Regions from separate parts of the Homo sapiens genome. Here regions 2, 3, 4 and 5 are each linked to region 1. The links are contacts of gene promoters, found by promoter capture Hi-C in blood cells and fetal thymus (Javierre and others, 2016). All regions are on one chromosome and are shown on one strand. Each heading gives the region's core, a stretch centred on a gene start or on the middle of the fragment in contact. The rest is flanking DNA. Distances are from core to core; before and after follow the strand shown.

Region 1 (3,827 bases), core at 1,280-3,779:
ACAAGTAGAAAAAAGTAAAGACAGATGAATTATATGATCTCAGGATGGGAAAGATGTATGAAGTAAAAAACAATGGAAGAATACAAAAATGGAAAAGATCAATAGTTTTACAAAGGACTAATATCTACATTGTGTGAAGCACCCTTTTGTGAAATACCTCAGTAAGAAAATGGACAAAGGACAAACAATAAGCTACCATACATACACATATGAAAACATACCATGATGATTTGGGCACATGGAAGAAGGACAATCACATACTGTCATGTAGTGTTGTGGGAAAATTGATAACCATTATGACAATCATTTCTTGATTATGTGCCATGCTCATGTGTTAAGTAGCTCTATGCGTGTTATTTATAGCAATTTATATATATTTTTTAATACAACATGTGGAAGCACTATATTAATTTTCTAGTTGAGACACAATTAGATTAAGCAATTGGCCAAATCTCTCAGCTCATAGGCAGCAGGAGGGTCAGGTTATCCATTAGGCACAGTAGACACAGTGCCTCAGGCTTATAACACTTTCGGGGGCCCATAAAAATGTTTTAATTTCTTTTAAAATCAGAAGGCAAAAAATTGAATATTTAGGTCAAAGAAAATATTTTAATGTATAATGTTAATATCTTTTTCTTCATACCAATGCAGTAATAAAATATATTTTGTAGTATTATTTTATGGAAGATGAGGCCCACACAGGTATAAGCACCTAGGGCCTGTGAAAGTCAGAATGTGGCACTGGGTGGCAGAGCTGTGTTTTGATGCTGGGCGATGTGATACCTGAGCCTATGCTCTTTCTGGAAGGTAGTTGCCAATATGTTTCAAAAGGGCTAAACTTGTTCATACTTTTTTATTACTTTTAATAATTTATCTAAGACAGTTAATAAGGACATGAACAATGGTTATGGAATACTATTTATAATATTGTTCATTTGAAACCAAACAGTCAATAACAAAAGGCTGGTTCAATATTGGGTGTCAGCTTGAGGACTAGGTGAGTACTAAGAGCTTCTGAACGGGGAGGAAATTGAGCAATGAGGGGAGCTGAAAGTGAGACACAGAGCAGGAAGAGGAGGCCTGCATGCATTCTGGAGAAGGAGTCCAGATCCCTGCTGGGGAATACCTACGGAATTTCTGAGGACGTGTTTGTAAGCACATTATTGCATCTATTTAAAGGGACCAGACAGCAAAAGCAAAAAGATGAAGAAAATCTTAGTACATGTTTAAAGCAGAGATGAGTGGGCACATATGGGGCACTGTGAAGAGTTTTTCATAACAGGAGAGATAGAGCATGTGAGCATCAAAGGAACCTTGAATATCACGTTAATCTTTGTCAGGAGAGCTCCGAAAAGCCAAAGAATGATTTTAAGCAGTGGAATGACACAGATGTATATTTTCGAATGATCTTTGTGGATATAATGTGCACCAATTTCAACTATGAAGCCAGAGGACAAGAACTAATGCATGGAGGTAGGCGGGAATGTGCATTGTTCAGTCAAGAGATACTTGTTGAATTCTGTACACACTCATGAAGTGTTGGGGTTGTTTTTGGTACACAGTTCTTTCAAAAAGCTCAGTTAAAATGGAAGGGGAGAGAGAACCAGAGGTTTTAAAATCAAGGGAAAATTTAGGACCTAATCTTAAAACGTGATTATGCTGAGGAGTTGTAGGCAGTGGAGAGGGTGAAGTTAAAGATGTGCCAAGGACCGCCCACAGTGGGGAGCAGGCAGTGGAGAGGAGCAGGGACATCTAGCCTCCGAGATAGAAGGAAAACTAGTAAGTCTGGGTGTGGACGTAGATATAATCTATGGGGGTTGGTCAGGTGGTTGGGCAAAAGCTGTAGAAATCCATGCCTGAAGGCTTCTGCTTCTCTGAAGTAGAAACCGGGTCACCTGGTAAGCAATGTGGTCCCACTGACTTCTATTTGCACATTGGCCTTTCTTCTAAAAGCAATACACATAACCAACAGTACTTTTCTAAACTAGTTGACTTTTCTGTAAAATGCAGACAGTAGACACTACTTTGTCAGATTGTTGTGTGCGTTAATTGTGCGGACACGTATACTCGGTCAATAAGTATCTGCTTTATCACCGGGCTGATGTGAGTGAGGACTAGGTGGTGGGGCTTCCACAGATGAACGTTTTGATTAATAAAAAATGGACTGAAAGTCTTCGGGTATGACCAATGGCTAAATGCAATTATTTACTCTTGCAATGTGTTCGAGGTCACCCAGCTAGGTCAAGGAGTATTTATGGACAGCCTACTTTTGCCCCCGGACCTTAAGAAGTCCTGCTCCGGGATCAGCCGCCGACCGGAAAGTCAAATTAGCAGTGCCCAGCGCGAGCTTAGAGCAGCCTCTTCCCAAATCTCAGCGGCGGCCCCGCCCCTTCCACACGTTCAGGCCCCGCCCCTCCCTACTATTGGCTGTCCGTCCCCCTCCGCTAGACTGCTCGGAAGACCCGGAGGAGCGGAGTTTTCCTAAGGCAGCATCCGAGCGCCCTCGCTGCGCATGCTCGGGGGAGGCGGATTCCGGGTCCGGAGTTGGAGGCTTTGGGCGGCCGCGGCGTAGCGCGCGGTGCCGGGGCCGGCGGGGAGGCGCGCGCTTAGGGCGCGGCGCCGGCGACGCGGCCACGCGGCGCGCTCCCGAGGAAGGGAGGTGTGGGGTCGGCTGGGGGTGGCGCGTGGACGGGGTGGGGGTGGGGGGAGGGTCGGGTGTCGGCGAGCTCCGCGTGCGGGTTCCGAGTGGCTGCTGGCGGCCTGGGCTGCCGGGGCCGACGCCTGGGTGGCTGCTGCCGCCGCGCCTGCTGCGAGATGGCGATCTTGGGCGCGGAAGGGTGAGGGCGCCCGCCGCAGGAGGAGGTGCCGCTGCCGTGGCCGCCCGGCTGCCGGGAGCCGACAGCTTCGCGCCGGGTAAGGACGGCGCGGCGCGGGGCTGGGGGTGCGAATGGGCAGGGCGGGAGGGGGCACGGGCCCTGAGCCTTGGCCGCGGTGCTGGGCGCCCGGCGCCGTCCGCCCCCGGGCTGGACCCTCCTAGGACCCGTCGGGGGACGGTCCGCCCTACCTTGGCTACCTTCTCCAGCCCGGGAGTCGGGAGTTTTCTGGGGTGGGGTCACGGGTCTTGCCCGGAGTTCGCCCTGGCAAAGGCCTGTGCCAGTGATCCTGGAGCGGAGCGAAGTGTTTCCGTGACTCTGCAGCCGCAGTTCTTAGGCTTCCTTAGCCTTCTCTTCGCCTTCCTCCACCTTTCCCTAACACCTCCCTGAAAACACAAATACATGGACTCATTGCCCGTTCCCTGACTTTCACCCCAATTTCAGCGTTGCAAACCAAGGACTCCAGCTTTGGAACGTCTTTTTCTGACATGTTTTTATCACTCTCCGTTCTTCACCGACTCTGCAGCTCCCCATCCCCCGCCCCCCCAGCGCAACCCCCACCTCCACCTTTTGTGACCTGGTAGGTTCCAGTGACCTTGCAGATTTTACCAGTCCTTATCTTGTCTGTGACTTACAGACTCTCCTTTCATCTTCGTGTTCTTTTTTTAAAAAAATTTAATTTTGTAGTTTGCTCCTTACCTTTACGACCTTTAAATGATCAGTCTTGTTCACAGTCCTTTCTTTGCTCTGCCGATTTGGAGTTTTCTCTGCTGTGGTAAATATATGAAACCTTCATTACCAAAGAAGAGTAGTGTCTGTTATAATTTTGACATTTTTACTCTTTCAGAATAAAATATTTTCCAGGGGCTTGATTTTGCCTTCTTTTTCTATTTGATAAGTTTAACAAATTTTTTTCTGTGTGTGTGTAGGTTAATGTGGAACAAGATTTTGTGT
Region 2 (3,677 bases), core at 923-3,422, 810 kb before region 1:
CTGATCAAAATGAATTTCAAAACTGCCCAATAGTTGGCCAACTTATATTACAATAACATTTGTGGGCAGAAAGACTAGAATCATGTGAACCCTGATGTCAGTATAATAATGACTGCAATTCCAAAACAGTGATGGAATTGTCATTAGTCTTTCTCTATATATACATATAGAGAGAGAGAGACATTTGCAACAATAATGTAATATAAAAATATCTGAGATTTCCATTAATGATGGAGTTGTAGATTCTTCTAATATCATGGTGATACATACTTTCATACTGGAAAGAAGTAGTACATCTCAGTTAATGGCTAGTGACATAAAGATAGAAGCTTCCCTTTCCCCAGAGGATGAGAACCTCTGTACTAAACCAAAAGTTTCTTAGGACTTGGAGGCCCTGATAAATCTTTGCACTCTTAGCAACATCATATTGTATGTCTTGTTCATCCAAGCAAAATTATTTTTTACTTAATAAATAATATCCCCTTTGGGGCCTGCTTCTACTTTTCCTAACCCGTTTGGATGAGTTTGATGATAGCAAAAGCCAAGGAACTGGCGAAGACAGCAAGTGGCCACAGCTAACAGTCAAGCCAGTTCACAAAAGTCCCAGGGAGAAAGATTCCCAGTTTCCCACTTCCAGGACTTCCTACTGGACACCAATTCTACACAGTAGAACAGTTGAGATGGATTCAGGAATGAATAATTTATTGACACTGATGTCAGAGGGAGAGGCAAGACGTCTAGGGTATGTGACCTATGGATCAGCAGCAGTCTTTTAGAAATGCAAGAGTCCCAGGCTCCACCCTAGACTTACTAAGCCAGAATATGCATTTCAACCAGACCTCCAGGTGATGTGTGTGTGCATTAAAACGTGAGAAGCTGTAGCACTCAGGGTGACAGTATTCCATGTAGTTCACCTAAGTGTCTTCCCTCACGATCTCATCCTTCACCCATACACTTTCCTCCGCAGACCTTACTCCTATGTAAGACTTATTTTGCTTGCATGTTACCTTATATTATAAAATCATTAAGGTTAGGAGGGGGTCAATCACTAGAGCAACTGGGAGAGGTGCCAGTGCTTTGAATGTAGCTGGAACCTCTCTCCATTTGGAGTAATTCCAACCATAAACTTGGCCTGCCTTACTTTGGTTGGTCAGAAGAATATAAACATTCTACAGTCTCTTTATCTAGTTTGTTTTTCTCAATGTCTTGCTGAGAAATATGTTCTTCAGAATTCACTGACAACACATATTTAATCTATGGCTCTCCTTCAACACAATAAATTTCCCTTTATCAGCACTAACCCCAAACTCCCTCACCGATTACTACCTGCTTTTTTTTTTTTTTTTTTTGAGACGGAGTTTCGCTCTTGATGCCCAAGCTGGAGTGTGCAAGGGCACAATCTTGGCTCACCACAACCTCCGCTTCCCAGGTTCAAGAGATTCTCCTACCTCAGCCTCCTGAGTGGCTGGGATTACAGGCATGCGCCACCATGCCCAGCTAATTTTTTGTATTTTTAGTAGAGGTGGGGGTTTCTCCATGTTAGTCAAGCTGGTCTTGAATTCCTAACCTCGTGTGATCCGCCTGCCTTGGCCTCCCAAAGTCCTGGGATTACAGGCGTGAGCCACCGTACCCAGTCTAATTACTACCCTCTTTAAATGTATCTCCCTATAAAAAGAAGTTCATCTCTGTGGTCCCCCACATCCTTCCCTACTGACTCTCCCCTTCTGGCAGTTCTCTTGGACTCAGCTGTTAGGACCATCAGGACCCAGTTCATAAATGGATATACTGCAAAATTTTGTTTTAAAATCTTTTATTTGAAATTACAATGCACATTCTAACAGAAATTGTATACTTGGTTTTTCAAAATAACAAGGAAAAGATTATTACGTCTTTAATATGGTTGTGGAATTGTTCATCTAAAATGAAAGGGATAATAAAGCAATGTAATTGCAATACAGTAACTAAACATGAGGAAAAACCAATGACATTGAATACGAAGTGATAATATATGCATTTTAGATTTGGTTGAACTAAAGAAGCATGAGTATCATCTGTGAAGAGCATAATAAGGCTACCTTTTATTATTATGAATAATTACATCTAAAAATAGTTGCTGTTCTATTCCTGAATATAAATGGTATCCAGGCCCTACCAGATGTAACTTGGGTCTCCTGGTTCCTTAAGAATAACATACTTTTCATTCCAGTTTTTAATCAACTCTACCCACATGTTCAGGCAATCATTGGTGTAAAACTTGAGACCTTTAGAGAAGGAGCCCTTTGAGATTCCTCTTAGAACCACACTGCCATCATCCTCTGCCTCCCTTGTGCTAATCTCTTCTGACTCCATGACTCCTAAATATTCTTCTGGGGAAAAGCAATATTTTGAACTGAGCGACGGTATGAGTTTCAGATCCCAGCGTAAATCCTGACTTGGGTAGATGAAGGTACGGGATGTGTTATACTCAGTCTCATGGAATGTCAACTCTGAGTGTTAGAGAAAGTAATTCTTCCATAGCAAAGTTTCTGAAAATAATAGGACTCAAGAAAACTCATTGAGTCCAAAATGTTGATTTCAGCAGGAACAAAGCAAGTACAACCTGACCCCAAAGGGGAATCAATTTTAACAAACGTGTGGAAACAGTCTCAGAACGGAACACATCTGAGTTACTTGTAATTAATTGACTTTAAAAGTCATGATTAAAACCTATCCAGTGGCCCTTAAAAAACTGACTCAGTAACTTTGAAAATAATCTCTGTATTGACATGGTTCAGGTAACGGACCCTCAAAATGGAAGTGTTAAGTTGGTTCTATCACAGAGATTAATTATTCTTTGGGAAACAAGTGAAAATTAACAAATTGATTTCATGTGGTATCCAAACTTGTGCACAGCCCTTGCAATAATCATTGAAAGTTATTTAGCACAGAAGGAGGACCCACAAGCTAGCTCCTAAGAAAAAAGCAAGAGCCATGACACCACATTCCTCCGCATCGCTGTGATCTTTATTAGGACTCCAAGAAAACACAGGGCTGAGCAGTAACTCATTGCCTCAGTTGCTCTATAAGACATAGAAGAAAAGCTGTTTGGGATAAGAGGAAAATTTTGGAATTTTATATAAAGAAGACTACTTACTACCTGTTAAAAATTACTAATTTTTCGTCTTCCTTTTAGTCATACCTAAAGACTCCTACATGGCTTTGATGACATAAAGAGTTTGTAGAGTGAAGACAGAAATGGTGAATGAATAAACAATTTGGGCTTGAATGTAATGACCAAAAGAAGTCCAGGAGAGTTTCAGGTAGGGAAAAAACGGAAAGTGAAAGTTTTCACTTCCAAAATAGTGACAAATCCCAATGAAACAAATGAAAGAAGTGTTCTGAATTGAGACAGTTATAGACAATCTACCATTTTCTTTTTAATCAGTATTAAAACACAAACTAAGTTTTATTTAGCATCTTATTAAACCTATAGAGAACTATTCCTTATACTATTTTAGATATGTAAAAACTTGAATAACGTTTTATCTTCTAAAGAGAATTTATAGTGTCCCCATGCTGGGTAATTCTGTAATAATGAAATACATTTCTACTTTGAAATATCTGTTAATAAAATCTGATTTTGGTATATTTCTCAAGATACTTGATTAAAATGTCATCTTAACAAATATTTGAATGAT
Region 3 (3,930 bases), core at 207-2,706, 840 kb before region 1:
GTATCTCAGGAATAGAAAACCAAACATATGGTTTTCACTCATAAGTGGGAGCTAAGCTATAAGAACACAAAGGCATACAAATGACACAATAGACTTTAGGGACTCAGGGGGAAAGGGTGGGAAGAGGGTGAGGAATAAAGACTACAAATCAGGTTCAGTGTATACTGTTCTGGTGATGGGTGCACAGAAATCTCACAGATCACCACTAAAGAACTTACTCATGTAACTAAATACCACCTGTTTCTCAAAAACCTACAGAAATAAAAAAAATTGTTTTAAAGACACAAGAAATTAAAAAAAAAAAGAAAAAGAGGTGAGTAGAATCCCTTCTTGTCTCTCTCTATATTATCTATATTATAATGTATTGGCTTAGAACTGTCTGTGCTTCTAAATGCTGGCATGCACAATTCTTTCACACACACACACACACACGCATGCACACACACACGTCATTGTCTCTCGAGTGCTCCCACAGCGCAGGCCCCATTTGGCCTTCACACTGAGGACAGCTTGGGGTCCAGGCATCATCTTCCCTATTGGTGCTTTCCCTTTTATGATGCAATCTGGTTTCAATCACATATCACCCCAGTTTATGCATTTTTACAGGGTTGAATCTCAGTGAGGTCAGTGTTCTTGTATCTTTTTCAAAGGCAGGTAGATTTTCAGCTCTTATATACACTAATTCATTCTAACAGATACTTGGGCTATTGTCTAACTCTGCTCCTCCTCAGCATATAAGCTTAACCTTCTTATGGATTCACTGAGTGAGAGGGGATTCCTATATCCACTTACCAACTGTGGTTGACCATGTATTAGTTTGCTAGAGTGTCTGTAACAATGTACCACAAACTGAGTGGCTTAAACAATAGTTTATTGTCTTGCAACTCTGGACCCTGGGACCAAGATGAAGGTGTTGGCCAGACCTGTGAAGGTACTAGAGAAGGCTCTGTCCCAGACTTGTCTCCTAGTTTCTGGCAGTTACTTGATTTGTGGCAGCATACCACCAATTTCCACAGGGCATGCTCCCTGTGTATCTATGTCCAAATATCCTCTTTTTATAGACACCAGTCATATTGGATTATACCATGGAATGCCCACTCTACTCCATTACTTAAGATGAGCTCATCTTAACTAATTCCATCGGCAATGAATAGGACTCCAACCTTATATTATTTTGAGGGGGAGAGACACAATTCAACCCTTAACACCATTCAAAATATCTTTCCGCACAAAAATTTGTGTTACATGACAAAGGGAAACTTTATTCTTCACTAATTGCTAAACGTGTCTTAATTGGGCCTACACTTTATTTCATTGTTGCTTCCTGTTAAAAAACTTCATAAAATATATATGGCATGTTTTAATTACTGTGACAGATTCAATATAAATTTTAAAAGGAGAAAGAAAGCACATTTTAATGTACCATGTGTTTATATTATATGTAAATCTTTCACGATTGGCGAAAATTTTTACAGAATATTTGTGGAGGTCCCAAGTTAGAAATATTAAACACTTTATCAAGCTGCACTCATGTCCCTGATGTCTTCAAATGTATGTTGTTACAAACCTCATTTTTCAGGAAGCAATGTGCGTCTCGTTCATGTCCTGTGTTTCACCTGTATGTTTGTTATCCATATAAAGTTATAGTTATAAGACTTGTTATTTTACAATGAGAGCAAAGTTACTTCTTTTTTTTTTTTTTTTTTTTGAGAGGAGTTTCACTCCTGTCACCCAGGCTGGAGTGCAGTGGCGCCATCTTTGCTCACTGCAACCTCCACCTTCCGGGTTCAAGCAACTCTCCTATCTCTGCCTCCCAAGTAGCTGGGATTACAGGTGCCTGCCACCACACCCAGCTAATTTTTGTATTTTTAGTAGAGATGAGGTTTCACCATGTTAGCCAAGCTGGTCTCAAACTCCTGACCTCAGGTGATTCACCCACCTCGGTCTCCCAAAGTGCTGGGATTACAGGCGTGTACCACAGTGCCTGGCTGCAAAGCTATTTCTATACATGTCAGAACATGACATTGTTATCAGTGCATCAAATTTCTTTAATCTTTAGTAAAATAAAGCTGTCACAGTCTTGTTAGGTGACAAAAGTACTTTTTGTATAAAGTAAGCATGAATTGGGTTTTGTGTCAACTCATTGATTCTATAAGGAGAAACAATTCACTTTCAAGCTTTTTTCTTCAGTAACTAATACTCTGGCACATCTGGAGTTCAAATACTATGTTTTTTTTTTAAAGAATTCTGAAGCAACACTTCATATAATTTTCCATTGTTCTTCAAAGACTGGAAAAAAATGAGTTAGACTTGTATTGAAAAGGCTTTGGGCAGAGAGTTAGGCAAACTCCTTGCTGTTGATGCAAATTAAATCAGATCATTAGGTTAGAGATCATATAAACTAATGCTGTGGTGTTCCATGTTGAGCAGGTCTATGCAAACCAACCCCAAAATTCAAGGAAGCTGAGAGGCCAAAGGAGGAGTGACAGATCAGTTTCTTAGAAAGAAATAGTTAATAGGAACTTATGATCAGAAGCTGTGTCTGGTCGGTATCTCGGGAGGTGGTGGGACAAGATGTTGGAAACTCATGCTATTACCCCACCAACCCAGGGCTTACATACCACAGGGAAAGGATAATTCCAAAAGGATGTGTAGGACATCTGAAGTATGATAACTGAAGTATATTAGGTTGTTTGACCTAAAGGTAAGATTTACAGTAAATACCTTTGCGCGAGAAGCAATGGATAAACTGGAAATCTTAGAGGCCCTCCAGGAACAGAGGTTGATCAGAAGCCAACACGGCAGATTAGCATCCAAGGTGGAGTTGCATTAGCCTCCGCAATTGGTCATAATCACCTTGCCAGGCCCCATTCCAGCTAAAGTTGTTTCTCAATAATTTCAGGAAAGCAGTGGTCTGCTATTCTCTGAGCACCATTGACCACTTATTGGATTGTGGAAGAGACCTAACTCAAATTTGGACCAAGAAGTGACTTGAAATCAAGATCTCTCCCCAGAAGAGACAACAATGAATAGGTGAGCCTATCAGGTAGTCTTCCTTTACAAACAGCCTGAAGGCTACAAAGAGGATTGTGTAACAAAGAACGGAAAACAACACAGCACAGGGAGCCTTCAAGACAAAAACCCCAAAACTCAGAGGGGAGGATGAAGAAGCTAGTCCTCAGAGCTGTCTGGGTCTCTCTGACAGCTCTTTGTTTCCGTCTGGTCTGTTTATGTAAATTCTTAACCTCCCATCTCTTAAGGTGGCCTGACTTATTATGTCCTTTAAATAATCCAAAGTGTCTACATATGCGTAATCAGAGACCACATTTTTCCATGCATATTTACCGAGATCCTTCCTCCCATCGCCACTACCCATTAGGTGCTGGGCTCTGTGCTGGAGATTTCCAGTATTCCGGGAGTACACAGAAGAAATTTTTTAATTAATTTTTTAAAAATCTATACAAGAGACCACTTAAATATGTCTCTTCTATTAGCAAAACTGTACTCAGTCTCTATTTCTGTGTTCCAGAAAGATTTTGTGAATGAATTACAAGCCCATTTTGAGCCAGGGGTGCAAGGATTTCTTCCCTTATGTGACATGTTCCCACAAACAGCACATGACAAGCAATTACATCTAAGGATGAATGGAACATTGTTGAGTACCATTCTAAGAATTCCAGCCATTATTTTTCTTTTTCAAAATAAACTTGAAATAACATAATATGTCACAGATGATTGACAAAGTTTTTGCTAGTGTATGATGGTATTATATTTAATTGCTAGAACTAGAATTTAGTTAGACCATGCACTGGCTCTTTAATTCACCTATGTGGTTTTAGGGAATTCACCTCCCTGAGCCTCAATTTTACCATATTGAAAAATGTAGATAGTAACTTTAAAAGTTCTTTTGTGAGGACTGAAAAGGATAAT
Region 4 (3,507 bases), core at 259-2,758, 910 kb before region 1:
TCATTTAGAGGCAAAATCAAAAGTGTCCAAATAACTTTCTAAAGCCAACAGATAAAAACTAATCATATCTTAATCTTAGTGCTAAGACAGTGTTGGTGGGATTTTTAAAATGCAGTGTGTTATGGTTTAATTGACAGCATTTTTTTTTTGTAGATGAGTATAAAATAAGTTCATCTTAGGATCAGTGGAGAAAGTAGAAATACTGAGTAGCATTTTCTTTTTGTTCCCATTGTAATGTAGGGCATGGGGTGGTTAATTTATTTTCATATAAATGTCAGAGGCATTTGAACCAGAGCAACTCCATCTTGAATAAGGGCTCGGTAAAATAAGGCTGAGACTTACTGGGCTGCATTCCCAGACGGTTAGGGATTCTGAGTCACAGGATGAGATAGGAGGTTGGCACAAGATACAGGTCATAAAGACCTTGCTGATAAAACAGGTTGCAGTAAAGAAGCTGGCTAAACCCCACCAAAACGAAGATGGCAACAACAGTGATCTCTGGTGGTTCTCACTGCTACACTCCCACCAATGCCATGACAGTTTACAAATGCCATGGCAACATCAGGAAGTTACCCTATATGATTTAAAAAAGGGAGGCGTGAAGAATCAACCCCTTATTTGGCATATAATCAAGAAATAACCATAAAAATGGGCAACCAGCAGCCCTCAGGGCTGCTCTGTCTATGGAGTAGCCATTCTTTTATTCCTTTGCTTTCTTAATAAACTTGCTTTCACTTTACTCTATGGACTCACCCTGAATTCTCTCTTGCATGAGATTCAAGCACCCTCTCTTGGGGTCAGGAACTGTTTCCAGTAACATAAAGAACATACTTTGTCCATGATTATGAAGCTTGTTTACTCTCCAGAATACTTTACAGATATACATCCATGGCAACATGCATATATTGCTAGACAGATAGGTAGATATATAGATACAGAGAATTGATTTTAAAATTAACCTCTGAAAACCATAAGTAATGAATTGTGGAAAGAGTTAATTGCTGCTAATTAATTGGAATCTTGATTTTTTTAAATGTGAGATTCAAATTTATCTAACAGTATTTTATCTGTTCATTTTGTTTCATTGTGCTCTTCATCATACCTTTAACCAATGCCATGTTTCTTAAAAATACTTATGACAGACCAATCATATACTCTGGTCCTGCTTTAAGTAGCATTTTTATAGCAGACATGTTTACCCTTAAAATACTGAAAATTGCATGCCTCATTATATCAGTATTTAAAAAATTTTAAGAATATATTATTTAAATTTTATTACTTATTTGGAGTAAATGAGATAAAATAGCTTGTGGGGCATTATACTAATTGAAAGATTTCTATTAGTCTTCATTACTTAATTTTAGAAAAATAAAGAAATAACTAACATTAAAGGGCTATAAAATTCAAGCAATCAGTGCAGATATTTTTCTGCACTGCTATTTGGAAATTTGATGAAAGGCAATCTCTAACGTCTCTTAATGTCTTTAAGATGTTATGATCTTCAGTTCACCAGGTTTTGCCTTGCAAAATGGCACTTGCAATTTTTTAAATGATGCTTTATTTTTTAAATGACGTAATTTTAAAAAATCGTGCTTCCTGCATGAAAACTTCCCAGATCTTAAGTATTTATTTAATTAAACTTATAAAATGAGAATAATACATGCAAAATGTTAGTTTTCAAGTGCTTGACATGTATTTCTTCATTTAGTGTTAAAAACCAAGTGAAGTATCCAGGGCAATTATTATTCTGAGAAGTTAGCCAACCAGCCTAGGGTAACAATACTTTAAAGGAAGCTCCAGATGTAAAATTGAACTTTTTTTGTAGTTTATTTGTTTGTTTTGTTTTGTTTTCCTAGCTGCTATAGACATGAGGTAGATGCTTGATTTTTTCCAAGGAAGGAAAATAATTTATATTACGGTGAAAATAGAACCCTCCCACCTCCACCCTCCAAATATGAGTCAATGCAACTCCAACAGTGGCTTGGCCTTGAATTAGTATGGCTGCAGGGAGCCAAGGAAAGCAGGTTGAAGACAATAACTTTTCATGTTGAGTTGTTTGAGAACCTTATACATTCTGGATATTAGTTCTTTGGCAGATGCATAGTGTGTAAACATTTTCTCCCATTCTGTAGGTTGTCTCTTTATTGATTATTTATTTTGCTGTCTAGAAGCTTTTTAGTTTAATTAAGTCTCATTTGTTTATTTTTGTTTTTGTTGCATTTGCTTTTGAGGTCTTAATCATAAATTCTTTACGTAGGCCAATGTCCTGAAGAGTTTTACTAGGCTTTCTTCTAGGATTTTTATAGTTTCAGGTCTTAGATATAAGTCTTTTAATTCATCTCGAGTTAATTTTTGTATATAGTGAGAGATAGGGTCTAGAAAAACAAATAACCCCATTAAAAAGTGAGCAAAGAACATGAGCAGACATTTGTCAGAAGAAAATACACAAGTGGCCAACAAACACAAGAAAAACGCAACATCACCAATCATTAGAGAAATGCAAATTAAAACAACAATAAGATACCGTCTCACACACATGGACACAGGGAGGCGAACATCACACACTGGGGCCTACCAGGGAGTGGGGAGAAAGTGGAGGGAGAGCATTAGGACAAATACTTGATGCATGTGGGGCTTAAAACCTAGATGAAGGGTTGATAGGTGCAACAAACCACCATGGCACATGTATACTTATGTAACAAACCTGCACATTCAGCACATGTATCCCAGAACTTAAAGTAAAATAAAAAAGAAAAGAAAAAAGAAAGATACTGTTTCACACCAGTAAGAATGGCTATCACTAAAAAGTCAAAAAACAGATGTTAGTGAGGTTATGGAGAAAAGGGAATGCTTATACACTGCTGGTGGGAATGTAAATTAGTACAACCTCTATGGAAAATAATATAGACATTTCTCAAAGAAATAAAACCAGAATTACGATTGGACCCAGCAATACCTGCCACTAGGTATCTACCCAAAGGAAAAAAAAAATGTTACATCAAAAAGACACCTGCATTTGTATGTTTATTGCAGCACTATTTACATTAGCAAAGACGTGGAATGAACCCAGGTGTTCATCAATGGTGGATTTGATGAAGAAAACGTGGCATATATATATCACGGAATACTGTGCAGTCATAAAAAAAAAGAAATCATATCTTTCAGAGCAACATGGATGGAGCTGAAGGCCATTATCCTGAATGAAATAACCCAGAAACAAAATCAAATGCCACATGTTCTCACTTATAAGTGGGAACTAAACAATGGGTACACATGGACATACAGAGGAAAACAATAGGTAATGGGGACTCCAAAAGAGGGGAGGGTGAGAGGGGCAGTGAGGGTTGAAAAGTTACCTACTGGGCACTATGTTCATTAGTCAGGTGATGCATATACTAGAAGCCCAAACTTCACCACTACGTAATATATTCATGTAGCAAATCTGCATATGTACCCACTGAATCTATGAGAAGTTTTATAAAGTATGCATATTTTAAAAAGACAATA
Region 5 (3,921 bases), core at 200-2,699, 860 kb before region 1:
GCAGAGAAGCTCTTTCCTGAAGGCCCCTAGAAAACCTTTCACTTCTCACTGGCTAGAATTGTGTTTCTTGCTCAGTCCCTAGCCCGGGAATGTGATCATCACAGTCAGTTAAGACCTGCAGGTTTACCCCACTGAGGCTTACAGGGAGAGGGCGGATGTCTGTTAATGAGGAAGTATGGGGGGGCGTGGATTTTAGGTAAGCAGTATAAATGGGTCTGCTAATTCTGCTACCTTTATTTTCTATACCCAGGCTCTGTCTCTGTGATGCTAAAACAATGAGTCAAGTTGACTAATGTGACAGTGTAGTTTAATTGGTGCAGTGAGTAGCAGAAATCGGTTATACTGGTTTGATCAAAAGTTTGACCTGTTTACACTTTATGAACAGACTCTCTTTCAGATTGCTGGAATTCTGTTGTAACGAATCAACCCTATATATCCTTAGAATGCTCCCTTGCATTCAGTAACCATAGCTGTGCATGTTATAATGTATGTGCATGGAAGGTGGCTCTACGGGGGTGATTGAGGGACTATTACTGGACAAAAGAGATCAGGTTAAAGGCTGTTGATTCATGGGCTGCTATATTACTGTCCAAACCACCCTTTTGCATTTGGATCACGTCTTGGTTAGAGGGGGGAAAGTAGCACTTTTTGAGAACCTTGAAGAAGTGGGAGACTGTTCAACAGCTGCCTGTATCTCAGTGGTGGCCAGTAAACTGAAACAAGTTTATAAGGGAATAAAAATCAACCAGTGACAAGGGGTTCTAATGTTAAATGCATATATTGGCAAAATGCCAGTAGGGCTATGTAGGGTGGTGAGCACTCACAATTGTTCACTAAAATGCTGTTTTTAAAACAGGAAAGTAGAATGGTTGAGTGCAAATCCATAGCATGAGATAAATTGAGCTTCTTAAGGCAAATCAGCCTAGGCAAATTCATTTCCGTGTTTTTGTGTATTTGGAGATGCCAGCTCGTCACTCAGCCCATGGAGCTTACAGGTCCTGATCACTTGATCTAATTGTATGGATGTGGTAGTTTGTCTTCCCTGGGGCAGAAAACAAAGCTTTAATTTGGAACTAAAATTGTTATTATTTTGCATCTAAAGGTATGAGTTTATAGACTTTTGATGTTAGATTTTTAAATTAGAAGGTCACTGAAAATTTCCCTTAAAAATGACCCCAACGAATTTGTGTATTTTGTATAAATTGGTTTGTTATATTAAAGCATACATACATAATCTATATGTGATTATGTATTCATTAGGAATCAAACTGAATTTTGGCCATTGATGCACAGCACTGAATGTTGTGGAATGTAATTTTTGTTTGTTTTTGTTTCTGTTTTTTGAGGCAGAGCCTTGCTCTGTCGCCTAGGCTGGAGTGCAGTGGCGCAATCTCAGCTCATTGCAATCTCTGCCTCCAGGGTTTAAATGATTCTTGTGCCTTAGCCTCCTGAGTAGCTGAGATTACAGGTGCTCTACCACGCCTGTTTAATTTTTGTGTGTGTGTGTGTGTGTTTTTTTTTTTGTAGAGACAGGGTTTCACCATGTTGGCCAGGCTGGTCTCGAATTGCTGACCTCAAGTGATCCACCCGCCTCATGCCTCAGCCTTACAAAGTGCTGGGATTACAGGCATGAGCCACTGCGCCTGGCCGGGGAATGTATTTAAAGATATAACACAAGTATATAACTGAATACCATTGTGAAACATTAATTATCAATGTTTTATTGTGTCTTTTAGGTGTTGAAATTCCGTAAACTTAACTTCAATGGGGAGGGTGAACCCGAAGAACTGATGGTGGACAACTGGCGCCCAGCTCAGCCACTGAAGAACAGGCAAATCAAAGCTTCCTTCAAATAAGATGGTCCCATAGTCTGTATCCAAATAATGAATCTTCGGGTGTTTCCCTTTAGCTAAGCACAGATCTACCTTGGTGATTTGGACCCTGGTTGCTTTGTGTCTAGTTTTCTAGACCCTTCATCTCTTACTTGATAGACTTACTAATAAAATGTGAAGACTAGACCAATTGTCATGCTTGACACAACTGCTGTGGCTGGTTGGTGCTTTGTTTATGGTAGTAGTTTTTCTGTAACACAGAATATAGGATAAGAAATAAGAATAAAGTACCTTGACTTTGTTCACAGCATGTAGGGTGATGAGCACTCACAATTGTTGACTAAAATGCTGCTTTTAAAACATAGGAAAGTAGAATGGTTGAGTGCAAATCCATAGCACAAGATAAATTGAGCTAGTTAAGGCAAATCAGGTAAAATAGTCATGATTCTATGTAATGTAAACCAGAAAAAATAAATGTTCATGATTTCAAGATGTTATATTAAAGAAAAACTTTAAAAATTATTATATATTTATAGCAAAGTTATCTTAAATATGAATTCTGTTGTAATTTAATGACTTTTGAATTACAGAGATATAAATGAAGTATTATCTGTAAAAATTGTTATAATTAGAGTTGTGATACAGAGTATATTTCCATTCAGACAATATATCATAACTTAATAAATATTGTATTTTAGATATATTCTCTAATAAAATTCAGAATTCTATTCTGGGTTATTTATTTATTTATTTTTATTATACTTTAAGTTTTAGGGTACATGTGCACAACGTGCAGATTTGTTACATATGTATACATGTGCCATGTTGGTGTGCTGCACCCATTAACTAGTCATTTAGCATTAGGTATATCTCCTAATGCTATCCCTCCCCACTCCCCCAACCCCACGACAGGCCCCAGTGTGTGATGTTCCCCTTCCTGTGTCCATGTGTTCTCATTGTTCAATTCCCACCTATGAGTGAGAACATGTGGTGTTTGGTTTTTTGTCCTTGTGATAGTTTGCTGAGAATAATGGTTCCCAGTTTCATCCGTGTCCCTACAAAGGACATGAACTCATCCTTTTTTATGGCTGCATAGTATTTCATGGTGTATATGTGCCACATTTTCTTAATCCAGTCTATCATTGTTGGACATTTGGGTTGGTTCCAAGTCTTTGCTATTGTGAATAGTGCTGCAATAAACATAGGTGTGCATGTGTCTTTATAGCAGCATGATTTATAATCCTTTGGGTATATACCCAGTAATGGGATGGCTGGGTCAAATGGTATTTCTAGTTCTAGATCCCTGAGGAATCGCCACACTGACTTCCACAATGATTGAACTAGTTTACAGTCTGACCAACAGTGTAAAAGTGTTCCTATTTCTTCACATCCTCTCCAGCACCTGTTGTTTCCTGACTTTTTAATGATTGCCATTCTAACTGGTGTGAGATGGTATCTCATTGTGGTTTTGATTTGCATTTCTCTGATGGCCAGTGATGGTGAGCATTTTTTCATGTGTCTTTTGGCTGCATATATGTCTTCTTTTGAGAAGTGTCTGTTCATATCCTTTGCCCACTTTTTGATAGGGTTGTTTGTTTTTTTCTTGAAATTTGTCTGAGTTCATTGTAGATTCTGGATATTAGCCCTTTGTCAGATGAGTAGGTTGCAAAAATTTTCTCCCATTTTGTAGGTTGCCTGTTCACTCTGATGGTAGTTTCTTTTGCTGTGCAGAAGCTCTTTAGTTTAATTAGATCCCATTTGTCAATTTTGGCTTTTGTTGCCATTGCTTTTGGTGTTTTAGACATGAAGTCCTTGCCCATGCCTATGTCTTGAATGGTATTGCCTAGGTTTTCTTCTACGGTTTTTATGGTTTTAGGCCTAACATTTAAGTCTTTAATCCATCTTGAATTAATTTTTGTAAAAGATGTAAGGAAGGGATCCAGTTTCAGCTTTCTACATATGGCTAGTCAGTTTTCCCAGCACCATTTATGAAATAGGGAATCCTTTCCCCATTTCTTGTTTTTGTCAGGTTTGTCAAAATATTCTGGGTTATTTTATTGTGTACTGAGTGGTGGGTAATACAGTAATG

What was found. The method cuts DNA at HindIII sites, captures the fragments that hold promoters and counts their contacts. A CHiCAGO score of 5 or more calls a contact.
Region 2: a fragment that was not itself captured here is called in contact with the fragment with the promoter of WWP1 in region 1 in 1 of 17 cell types (monocytes); the score reaches 5.6 in monocytes.
Region 3: a fragment that was not itself captured here is called in contact with the fragment with the promoter of WWP1 in region 1 in 4 of 17 cell types (activated CD4 T cells, total CD4 T cells, non-activated CD4 T cells and 1 more); the score reaches 9.6 in activated CD4 T cells.
Region 4: a fragment that was not itself captured here is called in contact with the fragment with the promoter of WWP1 in region 1 in 2 of 17 cell types (monocytes and erythroblasts); the score reaches 7.6 in monocytes.
Region 5: a fragment that was not itself captured here is called in contact with the fragment with the promoter of WWP1 in region 1 in 5 of 17 cell types (activated CD4 T cells, total CD8 T cells, total B cells and 2 more); the score reaches 7.0 in activated CD4 T cells.

Annotation. Positions count from the first base shown.
Region 1 is chr8:86,340,018-86,343,844 of GRCh38, forward strand. WWP1 (WW domain containing E3 ubiquitin protein ligase 1) reads left to right here and starts at 2,530. Exons shown (of 25, transcript NM_007013.4): 1 at 2,530-2,913. WWP1-AS1 (WWP1 antisense RNA 1) reads right to left here. Exons shown (of 6, transcript XR_007060994.1): 2 at 3,573-3,643; 3 at 3,065-3,259. RefSeq lists a silencer at 2,621-3,080. The HindIII fragment of the contact is 10,725 bases long and covers 1-3,827 here.
Region 2 is chr8:85,530,351-85,534,027 of GRCh38, forward strand. It overlaps LOC105375937 (a long non-coding RNA gene), which reads left to right. Exons shown (of 7, transcript XR_929129.4): 6 at 3,173-3,299. Among named protein-coding and RNA genes, the nearest start is that of CA3-AS1, 67 kb to the left of the region's middle. The HindIII fragment of the contact is 3,691 bases long and covers 328-3,677 here.
Region 3 is chr8:85,498,153-85,502,082 of GRCh38, forward strand. It overlaps LOC105375937 (a long non-coding RNA gene), which reads left to right. Exons shown (of 7, transcript XR_929129.4): 3 at 2,903-3,033. Among named protein-coding and RNA genes, the nearest start is that of CA3-AS1, 35 kb to the left of the region's middle. The HindIII fragment of the contact is 1,438 bases long and covers 738-2,175 here.
Region 4 is chr8:85,431,117-85,434,623 of GRCh38, forward strand. No RefSeq gene overlaps it. Among named protein-coding and RNA genes, the nearest start is that of CA3, 6.0 kb to the right of the region's middle. The HindIII fragment of the contact is 1,321 bases long and covers 849-2,169 here.
Region 5 is chr8:85,478,934-85,482,854 of GRCh38, forward strand. It overlaps CA2 (carbonic anhydrase 2), which reads left to right. Exons shown (of 7, transcript NM_000067.3): 7 at 1,737-2,560. The coding sequence ends at 1,856. Among named protein-coding and RNA genes, the nearest start is that of CA3-AS1, 16 kb to the left of the region's middle. The HindIII fragment of the contact is 782 bases long and covers 1,059-1,840 here.